Regions from separate parts of the Homo sapiens genome. Here region 1 is linked to region 2. Evidence: promoter capture Hi-C in 16 types of primary human blood cells and fetal thymus (Javierre and others, 2016). All regions are on one chromosome and are shown on one strand. The core of a region is centred on a gene start or on the middle of the fragment in contact, and the rest is flanking DNA. Distances in the headings are between cores, read along the strand shown.

Region 1 (5,541 bases), core at 1,814-4,313, 63 kb after region 2:
AGCCAGAAACCATGAGAAATGGAAAGTGCTAAGAGCCCTTGAACTCTGCTATTTCAGGGTGGAGCAGGACATACCATTCCATTCAGTGAAAGACCTTCTGACTTTTTGTAGTTGAGAAAGCATTGGAGTCATATGTGATTTGTGTAGCAAGACCTTTGAAGTCAAATGGCTTCTGAGCAAAACTGTGAATTTCCCCTTCCCCTCCTCAATCACTTTCAAACTAAACTCAAAAACCATCAGCAAAGATCAAGTTCCCATGGTTTTTTTTTCCCTTCTATTTGGCCCTCATGCTCTTTCTTTTTGGCCCAAGTTTTCAAGGCAGGGTTTTCAAGGGACTCTTGCCTGTTTTTCATTGGCCTACTTCCTCCCATTCTCCTTGCCTTCCACAGAAGCACCCACACAGGAAGGGCAGACCTGTCCAACACCTGCTCTTCAATTGATGAGGCGCTCAGGGTTGTGTGACCTACACAAACTGTAGATTGAGAATCAAGTCTGAGGGAGCATGAGATGAGTATTTATCCACCTCTTCTCATGATAGAGCTGTGCACCAAGGAAATCTTTAGTCAGCAAATGTTTTAAATGCAGACAACCTCAGTACAGGTAGGAGCTGAGCATTTGTACTTCTGAGGCTTAACTTCTTCAGAGGGGCTCCCAGCTGGCTTGGGCACCCAGAAATTTCAGGCCCTGTGCCTTAGATTCGCTTCTTCAAGGTGACACTGCCCTAACAAAGGTGACTATATAATTTATCATACAGACCAGGACACTTCTAAAAATAAAAGGGATTGTGAAAAATAATTAAAACTATATAGTTTTAAAAATATTTGTTGAATGAAAAATTAGTTTCATTATTATTGAACTTATAAGATATAATAGTTCTATTCAAAAACTATTTTTATAAATAAAATTGCTTCCAAAAATAAAAATAACATATTCATATTTACTAAGGCAAAATGTAAAAAGACTTACTCATATCGATCCTTTGAAAATTAATCACATAAGAATAATTATTCTTGGTATGCAGTAACATACTTCACTGTATTTCCTAGATATACCTTGTCTCTAATACCATATCACAGTGTATGTTTTTTCTGAAGACTGTATATATTCTTTTTCAATAAGTTCTTTTTATTTTTAATTTTTCATAAAATTATCTGAAATAGCCTTCAAATTTGTATCTTATAATTAATTAATTTGAAACCATTAGCACCTTTTTTCTGTAGTTATATATCAAATTTTTAAAATTTACAGCTGGGAGCAGTGGTTCATGCCTGTAATCCCAGCACTTTGGAAGGCTAAGGCAGGAGGATCCTTGAGGTCAGGAGTTCAAGACCAGCCTGGCCAACATGATGAAACCCCGTCTCTACTAAAAATACAAAAAATTAGCTGGGTATGGTAGGGGGTGCCTGTAATCCCAGCTACTCAGGAGGCTGAGGCAGAATTGCTTGAACTTGGGAGACAGAGGTTGCAGTGAGCCGAGATGGTGCCATTGCACTCCAGCCTGGGTGACAGAGTGAAACTCCATCTCAATAATAATAATAATAATAATAGTAATAATAATTAAATGTAAGGTCTACATAATACTTGCTAAGTACAGAGAAAATTATAAACAGAAGAGTTTTAACCCTAATTTTATTTTTTGTATTGAAATATATATAAATATTTCAGTCCAAATATTTTTATAAATACTGTCATTTTTGCCTCTTTTGACTATCAGCTTGGTACCTTTGACAAACATTTTTAAAAAGGGAAAAATTATTTAAAAGTTCTCTATAATATGATTATTTGAGTGTTTGAACAAATATAGATACTGCAAAAATACAGGTCCTTTCCATTTCATTTTATTCTAGTACAGAATAGAAACTTATGCAACTAAAAATGAGAGGTCTACCAAACATTTTTTATATAACTTAAAATAGCCCAGAGCACAATCATGAAGCTTTAAAACTAAATCTTATAAACCATTTAAACTGTCATTTATTGTTTTGTTCAGTTCCTCCCATGCTTTTGTATTGCTTAATTTTAATATCTTCTTGTTCATAAGCTTTGCCTTCGATAATTGCAGTTTGCCAAAATTTAAAAGCTGAAGTTTTGGGGTGCTCTACTCATTTGATACCTTGATTGAAGATTTCCAGCTGATTTTGAATGAAATGCAACCAAAATTTAAAGGACACATTTACCAAAAAATGTCAATGCCAATATAAGATACTTATGTTGTGTTACAAATTTGTTTTTCAAGGACTCAAATGTTTCTAAAATCTAATTAATGATGAACAGCAAAGAGTGGGTTCACATGTTGCTATACCCAAGTATTTTCTTTCTTCAATATCAGTATCACCATGAAAACTATGTAGTTCAGTTATTTTATCTGCGTATATGTAAAAATGTTTGTGAGTTTTGGCAATACAGCTTCTATGTCAATTGGTAGAATATCATAGCTTGTTTAACCCAATTATGAGTCATGTGCATGGCAATCAATTCCAAGTACATTTTTGCTCTACAAGTTTAATTTAGTAAGAGCATTATTTTTTCCACAATGGTGTACATCGCCAGAATTTGTAAGCATATTATGGATGCAAAAACAAATCATTTAATCCTCAATGCTGTACTCTGTAACAGAATTTACAATAGCATTCGCAATAATCTCAGATGTTTCACTTTCAACAAAAGAAAATCCTAAAAGTTTTACTTTGATTCCCTGAATTGGATGAGAGCCTTCAACTGTCATCAGAGTTAACTAGATTTTTACTTGAATCACCAGATGACATTGATACAAAATTGAGGCCATTTTGGCAAGTTCTTCTTATGCTAATTATCCGCTATCATTTTTCACTAACACTTTACAAGTGTATGTACATGAGGAAACGGGATTTTAAAAGAACAAAATTAAAATAGATAAACGATCATTTAACCTAAATGAAAAGTTATGCTTTAAAAGAGGTTGTATAAATGCACCTTCTGAAGCTGCACCTGCTCAACTGTTGTCACATTCAACATGCGTCTTCTTAAATTTACCATTAACTTTCGAAGTAGACCCTGATGATTTTTCAGCAGATTTGTATTTCCTTGTTTTCAAGTGGTCAGTGATATCACAATGGGTCCCACGGTGGATGGCAAATGTCTACATTTTGTGCAAGTTTCACTTTAATCATTTACTTTCTTGAGAAATGGCAATTCTGTACTTGATTTTGTACTAAACTCATGTTTTCATTTCCTTGAGGTCACTGCTATTGAAAGGGTTTATTGTAAAATAAAAAAGCATTGCAGAACAACAAAATAGTCATGGATTTATTTGGATTTATGCCATTCAATTCAATAAATGGCAAAACAATTGCAGCATTCAGACTACACAGTAAGTTCTATGGCAGGACTTCTTGTCTTCTGTCTTCTGTACATACTTTATATGTACCTAACCCATAATTTCCCACGTTTTCCACCAACTTAGTGACTTGCTGACTTTGTGCATTTATAGAGAGTGGCACAAGCTGATAGACTGTCTGGCAGGGCCAGCAGCATAGAATATCTCTTTTACCACTACCTGAGACCAGGAGTTATCTGTCCCTAACTGCTCATGACTGAGTACAGGCATACCTTGTTTTGTTGTGCTTTACTTTATTGAGCTGTGTGTTATGGTTTTTACAAATTGAAGGTTTGTGGCAACCCTGCATTGGTCTATTGGTGCCATTTTTCCAACAGCATGTGCTCACATCATGTCTCTGTGCCACGTTTTAGTAATTCTAACTTTTTCCTTATTATTAGTATTTCAAACTTTTTCCTTATTATTATATCTGTCATGGTGATCTATGGTCAGTGATCTTTGATGTTACTATTATAATTGTTTTGAGGTGCCACAAACCATGCCCATATAAGACATTGAACTTAATCAATAAATGCTATGTGTGTTCTGACAGCTCCACCAACAAGCCTTTCCCCATCTCTCTCCCTCTCCTTGGGCCACCCTATTTTCTGGGACACAAGAATATTGAAATTGGGCCAATTAATAACCCTACAATGGTTTCTAAGTGTTCAGGTGAAAGGAAGAGTCTCACATCGCACTTTAAAGCAAAAGCTAGAAATTATTAAGCTTAGTGACGAAGGCATATGGAAAGCCAAGACAGGCCAGAAGCTAGGCCTCTTGAGCCAAAAACTTAGCCACATTGTGAACGCAAAGGAAAAGTTCTTGAAGAAAATTACTTCCAGGGAACACATGAATGATAAGAAAGTGAAACACCCTTCTCGTTGATATGGAGAAAGTTGGAGTGGTATGGATAGAAGATCAAACCAGCCACAACATTCCCTTAAGCCGAAGCTTAATCAAGAGAAAGGCCCCAGCTCTCTTCAATTCTATGAAAGCAGAAAGACGTGATGAAGCTCCATGAGAAAAGTTTGAAGCTAGCAGAGGTTGATTCATGAGGTTTAAGGAAAGAAGTTGTATCTCCATAACATAAAAGTACAGGGTGAAGCAGCAAGTGCTGATGTAGAAGCTGCAGTCAGTTAGCCAGAAGATCTAGCTATGATCATTGATGATGGTGGCTACAATGAACAACAGATTTTCAATGTAAGTAAAACAGATCTTCTTCCATTGGAAGAAGATATCTTCTAAGGCTTTTGTAGCTAGAGAGGAAGAGAAGTCTATGCCTGGCTTTAAAGCTTCAAAGGACAGGCTGACTCCCTTGTTAGGGGCTAATGCAACTGGTGACTTTAAGATGAAGCCAATTCTCATTTGCCCTCTGAAAGTCTAGCATTTATTCTGCAGCATATGGATCAAGTAATAATTTTTTGGCTTTCAAGTCTTATTATACAAAAACACATTTCATAAACTGTCATATATAGTGATTCCCCTGATGGATCTGGGCAAAGTAAATTGAAAACCTTCTGGGAAAAATTCATTATTCTAGATGTCATCAAGAAAATTTGTGATCCATGGGAGGATGTAGAAATATCAACATTAACAGGAGTTTGGAAGAAGTTAATTCCAACCTTCGTGGATGAATTTAAGGGGTTCAAGACTTCAGGCAGGAAGTAACTGCAGAGGTGGTGGAAATAGCAAGAAAACTAGAACTAGAAGTAGAGCCTGAAGATGAGACTAAGTGGCTCAATCTCATGATCAAACTTGAACAGATGAGGATTTGCTTCTTACAGGTAGGAAGACCCTCCCCCAGCAAAAGGATTATGACTCGATGAAGGCTCAGATGACTGGTATTTTATTATTGGAGACAGGGTCTCATTATGTCATCCAGGCTGGAGTGCAGTGGCATGATCATGGCTCACTGTAGCCTTGACCTCCTGGGCCCAGAAATCCTCCCATCTCAGCCTATAGCTGAGACTACCGGAATGCATCACCATGCCTGGCAAATAATTTTTTAAATTTTTTGTAGAGACAGGGTCTCACTATGTTGCCAAGGCTGGTCTCAAACTCCTGGGCTCAAGTGATACCCCCAATTTAGCCTCCCAAGTAGCTGGTGCATGCCACCATGCCTGGCATGTAACATAACTTTTACATACACTAGGAAGCCAGAAAATTTATGTGACTTGCTTATCACA
Region 2 (5,832 bases), core at 3,063-5,562:
GATCACCTGAGGTCAGGAGTTCGAGACCAGCCTGGCCAACATGGTGAAACCCCGTCTCTAACAAAAATACAAAAAAAATTAGCCGAGCATGGTGGCAAGCACTTGTAATCCCAGCTACTCGGGAGGCTAAGGCAGGAGAATTGCTTGTACCCAAGAGGTGGAGGTTGCAGTGAGCTGAGATTGCATCATCTCACTCCAGCCTGCTGGGGGACAAGAGCGAGACTTCGCCTCAAAAAAACAAAATAGAACAAAACAAAAAAATCAAAGACAAGAAATCCTTCTGCTGGCTACCCAGCATGTGGTCGACCCTGGCCCAGGGCAGCCGTGCTAGGTGCCTTGGTTTACAATCTGGCACAGCTGGTCCTTTGATGGACACTGCCTCATGATTTGGATGGTCAGTTGGTCATTTGGAGGAGTTATCCTCAATTCATGCCAAGGGCAGGTTCCACATGGAGGCTTAGACAGCCCCCACAGACAACCTATATTGGGAAGCCCAAATATTTCAGATCCTATTGACTCAAAATTTTTTTTAATGAAATGTGCTTATAAAAACATTTTTTTTCCGGCCAGGTGTAGTGGCTCATGACTGTAATGCCAGCACTTTGGGATGACGAGGTGGGTGGATCACCTGAGGCTGGGAGTTCCAGACCAGCCTGGCTAACATGGAGAAACAGCATCTCTACTAAAAATACAAAATTAGCTGGGCATGGTGGCACATGGCTGTAATCCCAGCTACTTGGGAGGCTGAGGCAGGAGAATCGCTTGAACCCAAGAGGCAGAGGTTGCAGTGAGCCGAGATCGCGCCATTGCGCTCCAGCCTGGGCAACAAGAGCTAAACTCCATCTCAAACAAACAACAACAACAAAAAGACAAACTTTTTTTGCCTTCATCTTGGATTTCATTTACATCTGATTTTAAAAACCAAGTTTTGTGTAATACTTAGAATGCTATCTCACTTCTCACTGTGGTTATATGTAAACCTAAAAACAAAAATCAAGCAAACAAAAGATCCCTTATTTTTATATTAGCCAGTCTTTAGCCTTTTACTCAGCACCAGGTGTGAAATTTTAGATTTCTAAAATAAATGACTCTTCTTTCTTTTCATCCTATTTTCTTAATAGCTAATTAAAAAAAAAATCCTCATCTCCAACTTCTATCCCCCAAAAGTTCACAACATATAATGGGATTATAATTCAAGGGGAAAATAAGTTATAAATACCTTCTTTTCCTTTATAATTACATAAAATATCCTTTGTTATATAAAACGTATATTACATGATTATATTAAATTGTGGGTTTTTTAAAAAGAACTCTTTGTAAATGATGATTTTAAATGTTAACATAACAATCATCAATACTTTTTTGGGACTCATGATGTTATATTTTCTTTGACCTTTGAACTCACATGGAAACTGTAATGTATGCACATTGGAGCAGCCTCAGCCTTTCACATGTGCTCAATATTTTTTGATTGAATAAATGAACAAATAATGCTAAGAAAGAAATGTTAAAAGGATCCTGTTTCAGAATGGATAGATGCACCTTTCCCTTTAGGAAGTTAAAGTAAATGTGGTTAATTCATTATTGTGGTTCATGAATCTTTTAGGTGGACATGTGAACCATGGGAGATTACAGGAGAAACTGATCTTCCTCATTTTTCAGACCAGTAATTCCAGTTCTACTATGCTTCATTTCTGCCTCATCAATATATCTAACTCTTAATATTTTTTGTCAGCTCTCATTGTGTTCATTTATATCACTATATGAATGAAAAATTAGAATCATTGGCAGATAGAAACACAATATAGTTGCATTTTAGTTAAACAACGTTGCATTCATTCCTGGAGCCTAAGACTTGTCCTCTCTTTGTTAGAAAGGGAGATTATAAAGGGTAAAAAATAGTAAAGACGACTGGGCACAGTGCCTCACACCTGTAATCCCAGCACTTTGGGAGGCTCAGGTGGGCGGATTGCTTGAGTCCGGGAGTTTGAGACCAGCCTAGGAAACATGCCCAAACTCTGTCTCTACTAAAAATACAAAAAATCAGCTGCGTGGGGTGGCACACTTGTACTCCCAGCTACTTGGAAGGCTGAGGTGGGAGAATCACTTGAGCCCAGAAGTTCAAGCCTGCTGTGAGCCAAGATCTAGCCTGGGCAAACAGAGTGAGACCCTGTCTCAAAAAAAAAAAAAAAAACAAAAACAAAAACAAAAAAAAACAGAAAAGAAAAAAGAAAGACTTATGTCTACCAAAATAAGATCTTTTTCTTGATAGATTGATAGATTCAAAAGGATTGAAGGAGAATTGAATGGGAATGACATTCTATGTTGTGGAAAGATATAGCACATCTGTGTAGCACCAGAGCTTGTCCCATACTTGAGAAATTCTGGTCTAGTCCAGCTTCCTGCTTTATACATGAGCAAAGGGAGGCAGAGCAGTAGAATGACTTGCTCAATTGCAGAATGGGTCCTGTCCCCATGTCCCAGCATTCTTTCCACTGCACTCTGGAACTTTGATGCCTAACGTCTCTAGTTCAAGATCGATGGCCGCATGAAACAAGAGAGGAAACAGAAGTCCTGAAGCAGAGCCTGGTGGAAGCCAGAGGCGCTGGGCCTCAGAAATAGAGAACATGGAAGTGGTGTGAGTGAGGAACCTAGAAGCCTACTGGGGAGGGGAGGATACCATCTTTTGTCCTGTCCCAAGTCCCCTTTGCAGATGAGGCAATTCAGGGCCAGAAAAGGGAAATGACTTGTCCAAGTTCTTATGGCCTCTCAGTGGCAGAGGAATGCTGCAGCTTCATCTCTGCCTTCCAGGCTTGCATTCTGTATATGGGACCCCTCTGAATCTCCAGTTCTGACATCCCTGTCGGTTTGTAAAATCTAATACAATATTCATACCCTATAAGTATGAGGGCTATGGTATTTTGGAAAATTATTATTATTTCACACTGGCAGGAAAAATCACAGTTTTATCCCTTCACCAGCTGCTCCCAGAGTCCTGGCTGGAGCTGATAACTTGTCTCCATCCCCATGCTGCCCAGCACAAAAGCACAGAGCACCCTGGAGTAATTCTAGTAGCTGCCCCCCATGGTAACTCACCGCAAATCGCTTCCCACAGCCCTCGTTGCCGCAGCACCCACAGCAGTCATTGTTCTTCAGGCCCAAGAACACCAGCGCAGGGAAGATCATCTACCAGGAGAAGAGGCACCTCAGAGAGAGTCCAGGAGTTGAAGGGAGGGCCCGAGCCTGCCTGACTGTATAAGGAGCCCCATCCACAATGAGGGATTTGGAGGCCCAAAGGGAATGGCAAAGTAACAGAGCATGGCTGGAGGGGTAATGGAGTGTTATGGAGTACTTAGATTCCATTTGGGCTGACTAACCAGCTTCAATGAGGCAAGATTTCAAAATCTGAGTTTCCATTTAGATGGTGTGTTAGAAAAAAGAATAACAAACTTTTCCTCAATTGTCATGAAGAGTGAGTCTCTCTCCCTTTCACTCTCTCAAACGGAGGTTCCCAATTCTATTGGAAACCAGAGGTAAAGAAATCATTAGGTCCTAAGTGGAAGACGACCACACTGACAACAGCTTCTCATGGTGGTTTTAAGTCAATTTGCTTTTCTAGTGGGTTTGCATCGTGGGTTTGTTGTTGTTATTGTTTTGGGCACTATCTTGTTGGAATCAAGAAACTATGCGACCTTCACTTCGGTTCATGGGACTCAAATGACCCATGAGAACTGTCAGCCCAAGCTTAGAGATTAATTACTTAGTAAATTTAGCTGACGTGTCCTTGTCAGATCCTAACAGAAACGAGAAAAAAATTAAGGCATTGACCTCTCACCATGCAATGCTTGAGCTTCTATTACCAACTAAATATCTCCCTGTTCAATAAGTACCTGATTTAAAAAGGATTGTGGGGAAGGGAAAATCTCCCTTAGGGGGATTTTAAGCTTCCCTACTCACCAAGACACCGCTTCCTAATATTCCTCCGAAAAACCAGATCTCTTGGGAAAGGTGGTCGTTGTCATCTATCACTTTTCCTCCAGGAAAAAATAACAGGATGTTAGCCAGGAAGCCAAAAAAAGCAAGGGGAATGAGGGTCCCCCCCAGGCATCTGGCACAGCCCCCAGTGCACATTCTGGGGTGGTACGACACAGGTCAGCAATCAAAAGCTCCTCACTGCCTCCTTCACGGGGCCTCTTCAAGGGTTTTTGGCCAGAGAGTCCTTGTAATTGTCTCCAATTCAATCAGTATTTTGGGGCTGAGAACCAAATTTCTGTGAACTGTGTCCTTGGAGTTGCTTCAGCTTCTCAAAAATAGCAGAACCTCGATGGCAATGGACATTTATACATTCTCCCTGACCTGAAGTGCTTTGTTTTTTGCACCCCCATAAATGAGATTACGTTCAGAGCAATCATTCAATCGTTTTGCCATGGAGACCAATAACCTCTGTTAATAATCCACCAGCACAGACAAGACACTCACATTGTTGCAATCGAAGACAGGGCTGGAACAAACAGCATTTAGAACCACTGCACCTTTAATCTGACAGTGCCCATGCCCAAATAAAGAAATATTTTCTCCAGACTCTTTATAAATCACTAATATAATTGAGTTACATCCTGGTTAAAATCATGTCTCCCAAGTACTTAATGGTGTACAGTGCGTGTCTTTGTCTTTTCCACTGAAAGCCTGGAATTCAGGGTTATCCAAAAGAGCTTCTGTTTTCCTCAATATCAAAATAATTTGATGGTCTAGTTGTGTATCATTGAGCTCAGACTTAAAAGAATTGTTTAAGGCAAAAAGCTACTGTTCATTTTATTGTCTGATTGCTGTGTTTCTCTACTTGTTACGCAATTAAGTAATTAAGTTCTATCTTTTCCCTACACGATGTGATGGAATTAGCAAAAACAGTTTTCCTAATCAACTTTCTCAGCTATGTCTTCCATATAGGAATAAAGAAACCATCATCCACTAAGGCTAAGGGGAAAGGAAGGTCAGCATTGGTAGAGAGGGAGAGAAAAGGTCCTGATGAGTTGACTGGGGAGAAGACACAGTTGGAAGAGCAGTTATAGAGTGCAGGAGGCAGTAAAACACACCCCTATTAGAAAGTTTGCCAACTGCCAGGGGCATGATTCATTCATTTGCTTTGTGTCACTTAAGAAGTTCTCTGCCACGCCTGGACCAAGCTCTACATTATGCGATGGCCCTGCCTGGTACTGGTATTACATAACAGCTGAAGGATTAAGAGGTGGAACTGGAAGTCTTACTAGTTCTTCATTGAGAATCTAGAGGTTAAAATAGGTCGAATATTTTAGGGAGTCAAATTTTAGCTAAATAAAAAGCAAGTGACATTATTACCATGGTAAGACCTGTCCTACCGTGGAATAGGCCACCTGCTCACAAGGAAGCCATGGACTGGGCTTTGCCAAGGCTCAGAGGCCCTTGGAAAGGGAAGCTGTGGGAAGGATTCCAGAAAAGTCAGACTGGAAAAATGTTGAGGCTCCTTCTAAAATTTCTAAGAAATGAGTACTGGTTGCTTTATAAAGATACTTAGAAATCTCAGGGTCAGGATGAGAAAGAAAGCAGAAAAACAGCAAATGTTTATTGAGCCATGCATAATACTCCAAGCACGAATGAGCACCTTAAATGTTCTTCACCCTTCTGTGAAGAAGGTGTCATGCCCCCTTCACAAGTGGGGATGCTTCTGCTCAAAGTGATTTTTGCAAGCTCATCTCAGCATAAGAAGAAGAGCTAAGATTTTATTTTTTATTTATACATACTATTTTACACATTTATGGGGTACGTGTGATATTTTACATGTGTAGAATATGTAGT

What was found. Contacts are between HindIII fragments. The CHiCAGO score rates a contact against its expected background, and 5 or more counts as called.
Region 1: a contact is called between a fragment that was not itself captured here and the fragment with the promoter of TM4SF4 in region 2, in 1 of 17 cell types (endothelial precursors). The highest score is 5.1, in endothelial precursors.

What each region holds. Positions count from the first base shown.
Region 1 is chr3:149,409,573-149,415,113 of GRCh38, reverse strand. No RefSeq gene overlaps it. Among named protein-coding and RNA genes, the nearest start is that of TM4SF1-AS1, 35 kb to the right of the region's middle. The HindIII fragment of the contact is 2,040 bases long and covers 2,044-4,083 here.
Region 2 is chr3:149,473,177-149,479,008 of GRCh38, reverse strand. It overlaps TM4SF4 (transmembrane 4 L six family member 4), which reads right to left and starts at 4,312. Exons shown (of 5, transcript NM_004617.4): 1 at 3,958-4,312; 2 at 3,097-3,186. The coding sequence starts at 4,131. The HindIII fragment of the contact is 4,396 bases long and covers 3,947-5,832 here.